Regions from separate parts of the Homo sapiens genome. Here region 2 is linked to region 1. Evidence: promoter capture Hi-C in 16 types of primary human blood cells and fetal thymus (Javierre and others, 2016). All regions are on one chromosome and are shown on one strand. The core of a region is centred on a gene start or on the middle of the fragment in contact, and the rest is flanking DNA. Distances in the headings are between cores, read along the strand shown.

Region 1 (3,135 bases), core at 400-2,899:
TTTTTATTTTTTGTGTTTGAGACAGGGTCTAGCTCTGTTGACCAAGCTGGAGTGCAGTGGCACGATCTTGGCTCACTGCAACCTCTGACTCCCGAGTTCAAGCGACTCCAGGGCCTCAGCCTCCCAAGTAGCTGGGATTACAGGTGTGCACCACAACGCCTGGCTAATTTTTGTATTTTTAGTAGAGACGGGGTTTCATCATGTTGGCCAGGCTGGTCTCGAACTCCTGACCTCAAGTAATCCATCCACCTGGGGCTCCCAAAGTGCTGGCATTACAGGCATGAGCCATCATGCCCAGCCCTGAATTATTTTTTAAAAAGTAGAGATGGGGTCTCATTATGTTGCCCAGGCTGGTCTCAAACCCCTGGGCTCAAGCAATCCTTTCACCTCAGCCTCCCCAAGTGCTGGGACGACAGGTGTGAGCCATCATGCCCAGCTGGCACCATGTTTCTTGTACGGCCTGCAGAACTGTGGCCTAACTAAACTTCTTTTCTTTGTGAATTACCCAGCTTCCTGTATTCTTTTACAACAACACAAACAGACTAAGACTGGAGGACTGCCTCTCCCAGGCTAGACAATTCCTAGAGATAGGAGGCAGCTCTCTGGGGAGGTGGAATTGGCAGGCATCTCTCTAGGGAGCAAAGGCAAACCAGTCCAGAGCCATACCCAACCACCTCCTTTATACAGCTCTCAGCTCCTGGCTGCCATCCACCAGCCATAATCACCACAGAGCCGGGTACCAGGAAGCTGGCTGGGGACAGCCCCTTTCCCCAGAGCCTGCTGCCAATCGTAAACCTCTTTAGCCTGCCTTGCCTATTCCTTCCCGTGGCAACCGTGTCAAAGGGGCTTGCCCACATTTTCCCCCTGCTCCCTCTGCCTCCTGGCTGATGCCACCTGGTGCTTCCCTCTGTGGCCCTATGTGGCATGGCCTGCTTCCTGTTCACAGGGAACTACGAGCAAACTCCTTCCCTCATGATAGTCATTTGCATATCTGCTTGTCTTACTATACTTCATTAAAACAAATCTCAGGCCCCCTTAAGACATAAAGACAGGCCAGGTGCGGTGGCTCACGCCTGTAATCCCAGCACTTTGGGAGGCCGAGGCAGGTGGGTCACCTGAGGTCAGGAGTTTGAGACCAGCCTGGCCCACATGGTGAAACCCCATCTCTCCTAAAAATACAAAAATTAGCCGGCCATGGTGGCAGGTGCCTGTAATCCCAGCTACTCAGGAGGCTGAGGCAGGAGAATCGCTTGAATCCAGGAGGCGGAGGTTGCAGTGAGCCGAGATCGCGCCATTGCACTCCAGCCTGGGTAACAAGAGCAAAACTCTGTCTCAAACAACAACAACAAAAACAACGAAACAAATACAGCAAGAGCAGAGCGCCTGCCCAGAGAGAATGCACAACCCCTGGTCTGCCTCCAAACAGGACTGTTTCCTGAGCGGTCGGCCCACTGCTCCCTGTCCCTGTCTCACTCTTGACTCCTCCACACCAAGTACCTCTGCAGGCCCAGCAGGTGTGTCTTACCAGTGGCTGTGGCAGGGCATGCCAGGAGCAGACAGACCACCCCGACCAGGACCCCGGACTCCACTCTCACTGCTCTCTCCATTCTCCTTACAACTGGTTCGACAGAAGCTTCAGAAGGTGGAATAAGATCCCTGCCCTTCAGCACCACCGATCTCTAAAGGGCTGTGATATAGAACCTCCAAGGACAGCGCCACCTAGCTGGTGGCCAGCCCCATGCTCAGGCTGAGCCAGAGGCAGGGCTAGATGAGTGCCCTGCAGAGGCCTGGTTGATATGACAGCCCTCCCCGTCCCACTGTTTTCAAATTCCAGCTCTCCTGACTTGGTGATCTCCATGAAATCCTGTGCGTTCATCCCAAGGTGACCACATCACTGACCCTAGGAAGTGGTGGCCAGTGACCCTGGGGTGCCACTCCGAGTGGGCAACCCAGCCTGAGGTGAGGGCTTGATATGGTTTGGATGTTTTGTCCCCTCCAAATCTCATGTTAAAATGTGAAAGAAAATAAAACAGTGATGATAATAGGACCCACCTCATAGCATTGAAGTGAGGGTACATGTTTGCATGTGTGTGTGAGTGTGTGTGTGAAAACATGAGGCTTGGGACTGGGTGTGGTGGCTCATACCTGTAATCCCAGTGCTTTAGGAGGATGGGGCAGGAAGATCGCTTGAGCCCAGGAGTTTGAGACCAGCCTGGGCAACACAGGGAGACACGTCTCTAGAAAAAATAAAAAAAATTAGCCAGGTGTGATGGTGCATGCCTGTGGTCCCAGCTACTTGGGAGGCTGAGGTGAGAGGATCACTTGAGCCCAGGTTGTCGAGACTGCAGTGAGCTGTGATAATGCCACTGCACTCTAGGCTAGGCTATAGAGCAAGACAAAGAAAGAGAGAAAGAGAGAGAGAGAAGAAAGAAAGGAGAGAGAGAAAGAAGGAGAGAGAGAAAGGAGAGAGAGAAAGAAAAAGAGACAGAAAAAGAGAAAGAAACAAAAAGAGAAAAAAGAAAAATAGAGAGAGAAAGAAAGAGAGAGAGGGAGGGAGGGAGGGAGGGGAGGGGAGAGGAGGGGAGGGGCTTGGAACCAGAACTCATGGAAGCCTGAGGAGAGGAGAGTCTGGGAACCAGAACTGATGGAAGCCTGCTCTTGACCGGGGCGGGGATCTGCAGGGCATCTGTCTCTCTGCTGGCTTAGGAGGCTCCCACCCCCAGGGAGGGCAGGACTCACTTCTGGGCCTCAGTGTCAGGAACATGGCTGGCTGGGAGTAGGCGGTGGGAGGATGGATAGATATTTGCTGGCCCAGTGAAAGACAGAGTGAGGGTTGTGCCTAAACACGATGCCAGATCCTCTTCCGGGGCTCCAGCTGGCACCCAGAGCTGAAGAGACAGGCTTTAGGATGAAACTTCCCTTCTGCCAAAAATAACTAGTGCCAGCTGGGCATTGTGGCACAAGTCTGTAGTCCCAGCTACTCAGGCGGCTGAGGCAGGAGGATTGCTTCAGCCCAGGAGCTTGAGGCCAGCTTGGGCAACATAGCAAGACTCTCTCTCTAAAAAAAAATTCATAAAAAACCATTGCAGCTTCCTGAATCTTCCCCGGCAGCCTGGGGTGGGGTCTCCTTTTCAG
Region 2 (3,084 bases), core at 584-3,083, 210 kb before region 1:
CTCCCAAGGCCGCCTGGACATCCAGCAGGAGTGGGGCCCCGAGCGTGGGGTCCTTCCCTAGGAGAAGTGGGACTGCGCTCACCAGGGGAAATGTTCCCCCTCCTTTCTTCAGGGAAGGAGAGCCCTGCCCGCCTGCCTTCTGCTCAGTTAGGATAAAACATCCATTCTTAACCTCCCCACTCTCGCCCAATGGTGAGGGCATGGGTGGCTCAAGGAACGCTCTGCAGTGCAGCCTGAACTCAGGATTTCCCTGCAAATTGCAGATTGCCCCCTCACTCAATCAAGGTAGCTCAGCCCAATCACGGCGTCCTCCCAGGTAGGAGTCATCACAACCATTACCTGGGCTTGGAGAATTTAACCCCTTGACCGCCAGCTCAGGCTCACCCCGCTCTGGAACCAAGGGCTGCATCTGCGTGAGAACCGCAGGGAGCAGCTGGGGAGGGGACCTAGCAGCTGAGGGGGACAGCTGGGAAATCACTGTGACAATTCTTCTAGAGACACGGCTTTGGCTCACAGAGAACAGCTATGGACCAGAGGGCTTGACTCAGCCACCCCTGGCCTCTGCCCTCCCCGACCCACTTCTTACCAAGGACAGCTCCATGTCCAAGTCCATCAGGGTCCATTCTCGCCCTTGGAGACTGGGGCCCAGCACCTGAGGAGAGCTCTGGGTCAGTGGTGCCCTCCCCAGGCTCCACAGAGAGCTAGACCCCACCAGGTCTCATGCCCCTGTTTCAGCAGAAGGGGTACTCACATCTAGAGGCCCTGCAGGTTCCACACTTTCTTGAGGGGGCTGAAGCAGCATCGGAGGCAGCAGACTCTCTGGGCTCCTGTCCCCGCTTTCCAGGCCCAGAGGCCCCCTGTGCAGACAGAACTGCTTTTGGCCTGCAGTGTCCACCCCGCATTAAGTTCCCAAGGAACCCAGATGCATCAAGATTTTAATCCCCCAATCTTTAGAAAATGATAGGAGAGGATCCCCATCCTCTCTCCACCCCCAACCTCCCCACTCCTGCCATAAATGGCACAGAGAAAGTGCCTCTGCTTCCTACCTGGGACCTGAAGTTTGGGTGGTGGAGCTGGGGCTTTGGGACCCTTCCCCTCCCTATGCAAGTATCAATATCCATGCTTCTTTCTCTTCTTTCTTTATTTCTTTCTTTCTTCCTTTCTTTTTTCTTTCTCTCTCTCTCTCTCTTTCCTTCTTTCTTTCTTTTCTTTTTTTTGGAGACAGTTTCACTATGTCACCCACTATGTCACTATGGCACTGTCTTGGCTAACTGCAGCCTCCACCTCCCAAGTTCAAGCGACTGTCCTGCCTCAGCCTCCTGAGTAGCTGGGACTACAGGCAAACGCCACCACACCCAGCTAATTTTTGTATTTTTAGCAGAGGCGGGGGGTTTCACCATGTTGGCCAGGCTGGTGTTGAACTCCTGACCTCAAGTGATCTGCCCGCCTCAGCCTCCCAAAGTGCTGGGATTACATGCATGAGCCACCTCATAGCCACCAATGCTTCTTAAACTATTGTGTACTTTGCAGTCACCCCAGGGAACTCATTTCATATGTAGGTTCCTAAGCCCTTCCGCAGATGCTGAGTGCCCTGACTGGGAGGCTCTGCTTTCCACAGAACTCTGATGCTGGGGCCAAGAAATCAGGTGAGTATCATGGAGTCAAATGGCTAGGAAGCTTTGTGGGCTGGTAAGGGCTGTTCTATCACAGGGCTCATGGGCCAGCTGGGGCTCTGCTCACCTGTCAGGTATCTCCCTGGGATCCCCTGGTTCAGGCTGTTGGGCATTCCTGGGCCCCTCGGGGCTGAAGCTCCCTTTCCCTTCCAGGATGGCCTGCACCACAGCCACAGGCAGTGGCGGGGGGGCTGTCACGCAGAAGTCACACTCGTTTGGGGCCAGGGCCAGCCCGGCCTCGCCATCCCCCCCTGGACTGGCCGGCTCTTCTTTGAGCAGTGCCAGGCCCTTCTCCCTGCACCAGAGAAAAGCTTCAACCAGACCCTGGCACTGACTTCTCCCTCTACCCCTACAGCCATCTGGGCTGCCAGGCCCTCCCCCACAGGCCCCTCAGGGGCAGCCCTGTCCCCCTTACCTCCTGCCATCACTGGAGGGAGAAAGCCTGGTCCCCTCAGGGGATGGAGAGTCTTCTGGGATGTCAGAGATGATGGGGCCCCTGGCCCTGTGAGGGCTAAGGCCCAAATTTGTCTCTGGGAGAGGCTGTAAGTAGAAGGCTAGGCCCAGCCCTTGGCCTGTAGGCACAGGGAGAGCCAGAACCCCACCAACACCCACCTGGGCCAGGTCTAAGGGAGAAGGTTTGAGGGAGGAGGCTCAGTCCATGCTGGAGGGCCTGGGTCTGGTTGGGGGGAAGGCTGGCTTCCATCTTCTCTTCCTTTTAGGGGATGGGGAGAAGGAACAGGCTCTCCATAAGCCCAGCCATGCCCTTGGGAAGGGGGAAGAAGACAAACCTACCGACTGGATGAAGTAGGGGTCCTGCAGAAGGGCACCAGGTAGAGGGCAGGTGTTGAACTTGGCAGGTGTTGGGCATGAGCTCCCCTCATCCAGCATCAGGGACCTGTGTGGTCGATCAGGGCACAGGCAGGGGTGGGGCAGGGTCAGCCCCCATGCACCTCGGCCTGCACTTCCCTCCCTCCCTCAGGCCCCAGCAGCCAAGTCAGCAGAGCTGAGGCCTGTTGCTAGGGTGTCAGTCACATGCTGGAGGTGGAAGGGGCTCCCCCTAGAGATGGGGGCCCTTTGTGGGTAGAGAGGGGAGGGAGGGAACCTGGTTTGAGCCCCAGGGTCTCAGCTGTTGGGAAGCCTTGCCGGAGGGGGAAGGGGCTGCTGGGGTAGGAATTTGGGAATAAGGTCCTGGAATGGGAGGATCTGGGAGTGGGGATACCAGGTGGCAGAGTTGGGGGGAAGTGGATCCTAGATGGGGTGAGGAAGCCTGTAGCGCAGGGGGAGGAATGAGGATTCCCGGTGAAGGAGTTTCCAGAGGAGAAGGGGTCCTTGCAAGGGGACTTCTGGGGGGTCTTGGAAGTGGGTGTGGGCCTTCTTGGCTTTCTCACTCACAGCTTTCTCTTGCCTCCTG

What was found. The method cuts DNA at HindIII sites, captures the fragments that hold promoters and counts their contacts. A CHiCAGO score of 5 or more calls a contact.
Region 2: a fragment that was not itself captured here is called in contact with the fragment with the promoter of CES3 in region 1 in 4 of 17 cell types (erythroblasts, megakaryocytes, non-activated CD4 T cells and 1 more); the score reaches 7.4 in erythroblasts.

Annotation. Positions count from the first base shown.
Region 1 is chr16:66,959,780-66,962,914 of GRCh38, reverse strand. It overlaps CES3 (carboxylesterase 3), which reads right to left and starts at 1,649. Exons shown (of 13, transcript NM_024922.6): 1 at 1,526-1,649. The coding sequence starts at 1,607. RefSeq lists enhancers at 1,458-1,667, 1,452-1,953, 1,758-2,007. The HindIII fragment of the contact is 21,813 bases long and covers 1,636-3,135 here.
Region 2 is chr16:67,166,604-67,169,687 of GRCh38, reverse strand. HSF4 (heat shock transcription factor 4) reads right to left here. Exons shown (of 13, transcript NM_001374675.1): 6 at 3,066-3,084; 7 at 2,466-2,568; 8 at 2,089-2,213; 9 at 1,741-1,968; 10 at 752-857; 11 at 587-652; 12 at 340-409; 13 at 1-57. Among named protein-coding and RNA genes, the nearest start is that of NOL3, 2.4 kb to the left of the region's middle. RefSeq lists an enhancer at 44-93. The HindIII fragment of the contact is 307 bases long and covers 1,680-1,986 here.